Regions from separate parts of the Homo sapiens genome. Here region 1 is linked to region 2. Evidence: promoter capture Hi-C in human tissues and cell types (Jung and others, 2019). All regions are on one chromosome and are shown on one strand. Each heading gives the region's core, a stretch centred on a gene start or on the middle of the fragment in contact. The rest is flanking DNA. Distances are from core to core; before and after follow the strand shown.

What was found. The method cuts DNA at HindIII sites, captures the fragments that hold promoters and counts their contacts. A contact is called where the count stands out against the background at its distance.
Region 1: a fragment that was not itself captured here is called in contact with the fragment with the promoter of ING3 in region 2 in 1 of the 25 tissues and cell types used here (H1 embryonic stem cells).

What each region holds. Positions count from the first base shown.
Region 1 is chr7:120,278,867-120,283,224 of GRCh38, reverse strand. The region is part of intron 1 of KCND2 (potassium voltage-gated channel subfamily D member 2); the gene reads right to left. Among named protein-coding and RNA genes, the nearest start is that of KCND2, 7.9 kb to the right of the region's middle. The HindIII fragment of the contact is 9,212 bases long and covers 1-4,358 here.
Region 2 is chr7:120,948,787-120,952,982 of GRCh38, reverse strand. ING3 (inhibitor of growth family member 3) reads right to left here and starts at 2,206. Exons shown (of 12, transcript NM_019071.3): 1 at 2,059-2,206; 2 at 1,748-1,819. The coding sequence starts at 2,086. RefSeq lists an enhancer at 1,584-1,663. The HindIII fragment of the contact is 14,638 bases long and covers 1-4,196 here.

The DNA.
Region 1 (4,358 bases), core at 17-2,516, 670 kb after region 2:
CTCTTTGCTTCTATTACAGGGACATTAGATAGAATTGATGAAACTTCATCCCACCTTGAAGTCTTTGTACTCCTTTTCTCTCTTCCTCTAATTCTCTTCATCCAGATAGTCAGAAAGTCATTTCATCACTTTAATCAGCCATTGGCTTAAATGCCAACCCCTTGGAAAAGCCTTGTTTGTCCCCTATGCAAAATAGCAGGCTTGTTACCCAGATGTATTTTGTTCATAGCACTCATCTCTACGTGGCATTATATCATATATTTACATTTTTATTTCTGACTCTTCCACTATTTTAGTTTTAAATAGTTCCTAAGGTGAGAAAGTTGACCTTTTGGTTACTGCTGTGGTCAATGACAGGTAGCAAGTGATCAACAAAGGTCTATTATGTTGAATTGAACTCTGTGAGCCACAGTCTGATTCCCTGAGAGTGTATGTTACTGGTGTTATTTTGGGTTTCCAAGAGCACTATTACTGATATTGTTAAAAGTGAAGAAAATGAAGAAGACGGAAGAATTAGGTCCACATAAAAGCAAAAAAGACAAGACCTTTTACTTTTAGAACAAAATCTTCCCATTCTATTTGACATTATCTCAACTGTCATCCTACTCTTTCAATGTTATTTTTTCCCATTATTAACCTCTAGGAACTCATTCCCTACTCCCCCCACACTTTTAATGATTTAGATCATTACATAATAGACTTGTCAAAATTCCCAAGGCAAAATGGATTGCGTTATGCTAGAATATATACCTACATTTATCTTTACATTTTGTAATCTGCCTTTTAATTTCTTAGAATGTTAACTTCTTCCTGATGGTGATTACATTGAGCTTTTCCTGACAGAAATTGCATCTATCTCCTATGTCATTTACAGACAATATTTCCCTATTTTAAAAAATTCTATTTTATGCATAAATGAGAAAACCTGGATGAAAAACAAGAGTTCCAGCTTGTGTTACTGGTAAGAGAGAACACCTTTCTAGTGATGAAGCATCATCAAAGTATCTGTTGACCCATGGGCTTTTTAAGCTACTCGTATTTACATAAGGAACTGGGCTTTCAAGGGAAGGTAGTATATTTCTATGTTGATTCACCTATATCATGAAGCATCTCCATATGCTTCCCAAAGGCATCCGCAATTTACCTGGACTTCACCAGAAATCAAACTGTTCAAGAAAATGGCAACTGGTAGCCATTAATTCTAGCCTTTGCAGAGTAGTTAGTTATGGATGAAAAAGTTGAGGTCTCACAGCCCTTCCCAGTCAAAAAGAGAAAAATTAAAAGGGTACATTTAGTAGATGAGAGGACAAAATGTTCAAATAACAAATGTAAATACTTTTAACATTGAACAAAGCAAAATAATTTGGCTTAAGAGTAGCAGATTATTGCTAATGTTGAGATGGCACAGCTCCATGGCTAAGGAGCTCTCCATGGCGTACAAGTGCCATCTCACACCATGATCAGCAACACATTAACATAGATATTTTCCTACATTTGAGCACCGAACTAGGTAATAACTCCCCAGAAGGTATACACTCAAACCTCAAAAGCCTTTCAATTTAGTTAGAATGTCAAGAGGTAAAACCATAAATTATATATAAAAATGACACTTACTAATATCAAGCACAATTCCAACTATAAATGACGTAGGCTTGCTTAGGGGGCTGAAAAGCCTTCATGGAGAAGGTCAACGTAAAGGCTGCCTCTCAAAGGAGAAAACTAAAGGGCAAAACATTCAAAGAGCAGTGCAAATATGCACAAAAATGGTGTTTCACCCTGGGGTTTTTTTTTTTTTTTCAATATCAGACGCTATCCCACATCATCAAATCTAGCTGCAGAAGCTAGTGGGAGAGCAATGCTTATACATACATATGTACATAAATACATACATACATGCATACGTGTGTGTGTATCCCTGCTTAGAAAACAATATAAGACATATGGAGAGTAGAAGGGAGGAAAGGGAATGAATTCATTATCACAACTTTAAAGGAAAAAATATACTTCCTTTTCAGTGAATGTTTATTTCACCATTTGTGTTCTTTCAATGAAAGAGAAGTTAAATTGCATATTTTTAATGACTCATAGGCCAACTCTTTCAGGAAATTAGGGCAAAATAACTGAATTCTTTTCCATCAGGCCAGGTAAAAGATTCACCATTGAGTAGTTTGCCGCCAAACGGCCTGAAAGTTCACTGGATGAGAATACAAGGTTGTATTATATCAGATGGGCACCATTATGATAAACCCCAGTGCTGTTTGAATAAATGCAGAGCCAGCAGTGATATTGAGGAATGTGGAATGAGTCACATCAATAGAACTAAGGGAGAAATGCACTACATTAATAGAATAAATAGCAAATGTATTCCTTCTCTTATCCCTGTATAATCAGCAGCAGTCCCGATAATTATTATAACACATTTCTAGATAATGTTTTAGGGTCTTCAGAAGAAAATGAGCATAAAAGTGAAATTTCAAAAAATATTGCTGCTATCCAATTATGTAACTATGGACAAGCCACACAATTCTTAAATGAACAAAATTATTAATTTTAAATAAATGATGGGTCACTTTTCTTCCACTAGGAATGTAGAGATCAGGTAATAAGAAATTTGAACTTTGTGACTCATTTTCAAAGATGAGTATAATTGAGAGGAATGTTCAGAAGTAAATGATGTAAATATAAAAATAAAATAAGACAGTTTATCAGTAGTCTAAAGGAAAATTAAAAATAAAAAAGAATAGCATAACAGACCCACTGAAAATTTAAAAATAGCGTTTTCTCTAGGGTACTATGTTGAAATAACACATATTAAACCTTTTCTGAAATACCTCTGTCTGGCAACCAAGTAAATGCTGAAGTACTACAGGCTGGATTAACATACATATTTTTAAATTCCACATCAAATATTGTCTCTAATTCAAGTGATGGCTAAAACAAAATGAAGACACATAAGATTTGGTTACTTGTAAGGCTAAAAGAGGAATACATACCACATTTCTCTACATTTCTTTAAAAGTTCATTTTCAACTTCCATCAACTAACATTTTCTATAAAGAACTTTACACAAATATGTCATAGTATGTCAAAATAAAAATAGATGTTACTCATATTATGGCACTTCACCAGAAAGATAAATTTTGGTACTTCCTACCTTTTAAAGAGTTTTATATTAATGCACTAGCAATAGTTATGTATAGATGTTGGCACAAGGGAAGATAATTTCACCCATTTCAGTAACAGCTGGGTAAACTTTAAGTCTCTACATAAATGATTCTGCAAGATATACTCCCATCATTACCCAAAGCTATATAATCAGAATACTGACAGGTATCAGGAGAATAGTATTTAAAAGTTTATCCTTCTCTTTAATAATATATAATTATAACATAATGTTATCGTATATCATAGATATGATCATATATATGCATATGATAAATTATTTCAAAGTATGCCATTCTAAAAAAGGAATTTCCCTGATACATCGCTATGAAAATTTAAGTGAAAACTTTTCTGCTTTTTTGTTGTTCCTTAAAATAGTAATTCACCAAACGCACAAAAATTGAAATATGGCAATTATGCTAAGTTTTCTGGCAGCAAAGATGTAACGCCACCGTATTTGTTTTAGATAAATATATAATACAAATTAAATTTTTACTTTCCCAAATTTGTTCTGAAATCAGCATATAATTTATATCGTTAAAATAATAAAATTTATCTCTAAACATAAACTTTACAGAAATGCCATGTAGCAACTTTCCCATATTGAACACTTTGATGAAAACAATTTTGTTTTAAAATTAAAGTGAGATGAACCACAAAAATAACACTCCTGAAATTCTTAAGTTTTATATTATGAGTAATATGATCCCTTCTTTTAAAGAAATTGTCTAAATGGTAATAAGACCAAGAATGCAAATATTTATATTACTTAACATAATAATAACCCTTCAATTATTTAATGTGCCACCTGGTACCACTTCTAATTTCCAGATCATGTGTATGAGGTGCAATAGTAAACTGAAGCTTGACACTGTCTAGTACATTTTTACAAAATAGTTTTTGATTATTGGTGAACACTTGGAAATTTCCTAAGTTTAGCAAGATTTGAGTACTACAATCTAAATGAAAAATAACAACTGGATGTTATTTTCCAAAGGACTTTAGGACAAAAGAGGAGTTCCAGGTTCTTTTTCTAATAAGGCAGTTAATGGCAGTAACTAGAGTTTACATTATGGAAAGGGGAGCCGGGTGGATAAAAGGGTGATTCAGGGACCTGTGAAATGCGCTCAGAAAGAAGGGATGAAATGGAGGAACAGAGCTACCTGATTACTCAATCTAAACACTTAAAAAAAATT
Region 2 (4,196 bases), core at 957-3,456:
AATGTACCGAAACACAATTAAAACACCATTAGATAATCCTCACATTTCTTTTAACAAGAAAAAGTGATAAAAATATTTGGTATATGGCATTAAACATCTCATCATGTCATATCCCAACTGAAAGTAGTAGGTACAATCATTTAAACATTAATTCTAGGTAAGTTTTCCCCAAATTATATGCCAAGACTAATCATCTCATTGGATGTCTGCTAAAAAAAAAAAGGAAAAATTAATAAAAAAGATTCTGTTGTTATGTAAGTTGAGAAAAATCTTTTCATAATATACTTCTTTTGGAGATTTCCAGTCCACAATAGCCTTTTAAAGACTCTATGAAGTCCTATGGTTAATTTTTTAGAAGTATGTTCCTTTGTTTAAATAAGCATTTCTGAATTTATTTGGCACACAGTTCTGTTAATCCATAATACCTATTAACTTTAGAAAATTCTAGTTACTGTAAAGAAATGCACGTTTAAAAAGCCTGTAATATGTATAATGTAAGCCCAAATTACAAGAGAATTTAAAATTTTAAACAATAAAATATAAAAATAATTTAAAGTAAGTTACCCTTTATTTAATGCCTACTTTGTATCAGATACTAGAAATTCTAATCCATGTGTAACATTTTAAATCCTTGGATGATTCTCTTTTTATAGACAATGTAAGCCCCTCACAAGTGATAATACAGTCAGAGTCAATGAGTAAATTAGTAAAGCCCTAAAACAAACTCAGATCTGACATCAATGTCTGTGCTCAGTCCTGCAGAGAACACTACTTCAGCAAATCTTCAGCATTTCAACTACACTAAAATTAAAATGAATTTGTGAGATAGCTGGAGAACCACACACACAATTCATACTTCATATCACAATCCACTGAACAGAAAGTGGCTTCCATGCCACCACTTTTTATTATGTGCCACCTGAAACTTACCGGAAAAATATACTCATAAGCAAAGGGTATAGAAGTGGGTGTGTGGTCATGGGCAGAGAAGCCAGGAGCAGTGAAAAGGACAGGTTCTTAGCTGCAGCAGGTGGTCCCTGAGCCACCTATTTATAGTCGTTGCTCTATGAAAGAGCAAAGTTAATTTGGGGAAAAAGTCCTAGAGACTACCAAGCTATCACTGAAAGAAAAAGAAATGTTCATTAACTGCTAAAATTTTTAGTACAGCACATAAGAAACTTTACAGTGAAATCTAATTTCTGTCACTCATTTTAACCAAGAAAATGACGATTCTGTTACAATTTAAAATGTATCTAATGTGTAACTAAGTTTTCAAAATTTGACATTTGCCATGGTCTCTAAAGAGCTATATATAACCTCTGCTTCTGTGCTTTCCACTCTTGAAAAACTGTGAATAGGATGAACTTTAAAATAAGTATAAATGCTGAAATCTAAGTTCGATACGAAAAGGCTCAAGACGACATCTCAACATTTATTATGCTGACGTCCATTGAAACATAGATAACTATGTCAATGACGGTAGAGAAATATTTTTTGCACAATCCCACATTCTAGAAAGGAATACACGTGTCCCAATGCCTCCTGCTCTTGCAAAAGCCAGAAAAAAGTAGCATGGGAGGGAAGGGGAAGGCGAGATTCAGGGCTGCCAGTTCTTTTTGACAACTCCTTATGCACTAGCGGAGTGAGCCAGAGGACAGTGAAAGAGCACTAGGCGCTAGCAGTGATGACAAGCAAGTCTGGCACTGAACGCGCGCAGCGAACAGGAGTAGTAGACGCGCCGACTTACTCTGCACCTGCAGGTCCATCTCGCGCATTTCCGTGAAGCGGTCCCGCAGATCCATAGGAAGCTGCTCAATCACTGTCAAAGGGAGAGTCCGTCAGAGGGGCGGGGCCAACGGCGAAATACGCGCTTACGTCACTGCGCGCGTGCGTCAGGGGGGTCGAGGGGGCCGGCAGCCCACAACGAGGCTGCCAGTTACCGTGAGAAAGAAACATCCCCCGCCGCCCCCTCCCTCCCGCCATCTCGCTGCCCGTCCACTCGCGCTCTTGCCCGCCCGCACGTCCCACTGGCGGCCGCCGCCAGCGCCGCGCACTCACTTTCCAGATAGTCTTCTAGGTACAACATCGCGGCCCTTAGAGCTGAGGGAACAAGGGGGTCCAGGGGTTTATTTGTGTCACTCGCTGTCGCCGGAGTTTTGTCCCCTCCAATATGGCGCCTCCGCTAGCAGCACCCGCTCGACTCCGGCAAAAAAAAAAAAAGAAAAAAAAAAAAACCACTTTGGCGCCTGAGGCGCTTGCCTCACTGCCGCCCGGAGCTGCTATTGGTTGGTTCAAGCAATGACGTAGCCCGGCCGGTGTTCGCCCCCGTGCCTCTGTGGGAAATGTAGTTTTCTTCCTCCTCAGCGAGGGTTGGCGCGCTGGCGGCTCCCCTCGCAGAAACTACGAATACCGGGCGCCATTGCAAACAGTGCGTAACAGAATCCGAAATGCGGTGCCTCTGTTTATTTGTTGATTTTTGCACAGAGAATGGCGGGAGTTGTATGCACCTGCATAACACAACTAGGAACAACTTTTCACCTGTTCTTTGATGTGATTCCATGCCCCGGCGTTTGTGAGTTATGGGTTTCAAGAAGTGCCAGGCAAATAGCAAAGGTTCTAAACACTAGAATAATCAGCAAAGTTCGGGGAATTTGGATTGCTTAAAATAGAACTCTCTACTGGAATTTATCCTCATTATTCACTCTAAAATATAAAAGAGACACCTGGTTGGCTTACGTGTAATTTTAAAATAGTTTATACTGAGACTATGGAGTGAATATACATTTCCCAGATTAAAAGATGCACAAATAGTGTCAGTAGCCACTTATATATTCTAGTTTGCGGTCCATCTAATCGTCATTCTAATGTAATTGATCTATACATACAATCTGCATCCGCAAATAATAATAATAATAATCTTCATCATCACAGTGAGCAGCCATGAATTACGGATGCAGCCTTGATTTCTAATAGGCTGTTAATAGCAGTAACTTTATGTTGAGTAAATAGTCCATATTCGAGGTTGGTTGTCTTCGGCGTTCTTTAGTTTCTACTTTTCGACCTCTCCCAGCAAATGTTTTCCTGTGATATATTTAGTACGTCCCTACTCAGTTTCTTTTTAAATTGTTTTTTATTAAAAACTCTTGCACTCAATAAATGCTAGATATTGTTATTTTCCACTCTTCTTAACTTTTCGATTTTCTGGGGAAATTGTCATTAGTTCATAATTTATTGTTCATTTTCTGTTTTTCAAATTGCAGTTGAAACTGTGTGTGTGTGTTTCTTGCTTTCCTTCTCCATTACATACTCTTGTACTCAAGGTTTTCACTGCTCTTAAGCAGGAAACTTTCCTGTCGTGAATGATGAATCATGATGAATCTCAACGGAACCTTACTTCGATCCTAATAAGAATTAGAATTTTATAGTTTCTAGTTAAGTTTTTCATTACTTCCATCGAAAATCAAGTACTTTCGATCTTTTTCTCCCTTCTTTTTTTCCTCCTTTCTTCGTTTCCCATCCTTCCTTCTTCTGGCTGCTTTTAACATCTCTTTGACATCTTTTTGCAGTTTTGTAGTGATCTAAGTCTGAATTCCTTCCTTATTCCCTTTTCTTTCCTTAAAATTTTAAAATTATGCTTAGGATTTGAGGGGATTCCTGAATTTCAGGATTGGTGCCCTGCAACAATTCTAGAAAATTCTCAGCGTTTGTCTTTTCAGTATTGCTTATTTCTCATTTTTTCCATTAAGACTTTCTCTCTTTATTCTCTTATTTATCTTAATCTTTCTTTTATATGTTTTATTTTAGAATTTTCATAATTTTTCAGGTTTGGAAGTTCTATTCGGTTCTCTTTTCAAGACATCTTATAATTTCTTATACAAATTATTTAGTCTGTATCTTGTTTCTGTTAAACCTAATATTGAAACATTTATGGGCCTTTTAGTGCTATTTCTTCAGAAATGGGCACTTTTACTCATGGTGGCTTTTTCCTGTTGGGTTGCGATTTTGGACTCTGAATTCCTGTTTCTGGGATTACAAGCATAAGGATTCTTTGAGCTGGAGTTGAAATTGAGTTTTCATGGAGAGCATTAGAATTTGCTTGTCAGTTTGTTTGGAGACATCATAAACCCCTAGGACCAGATTAAATTGTCCCCTTGAGGTTTATTGTATTGCACAGATAGATTGAATTTGGGCCTCTA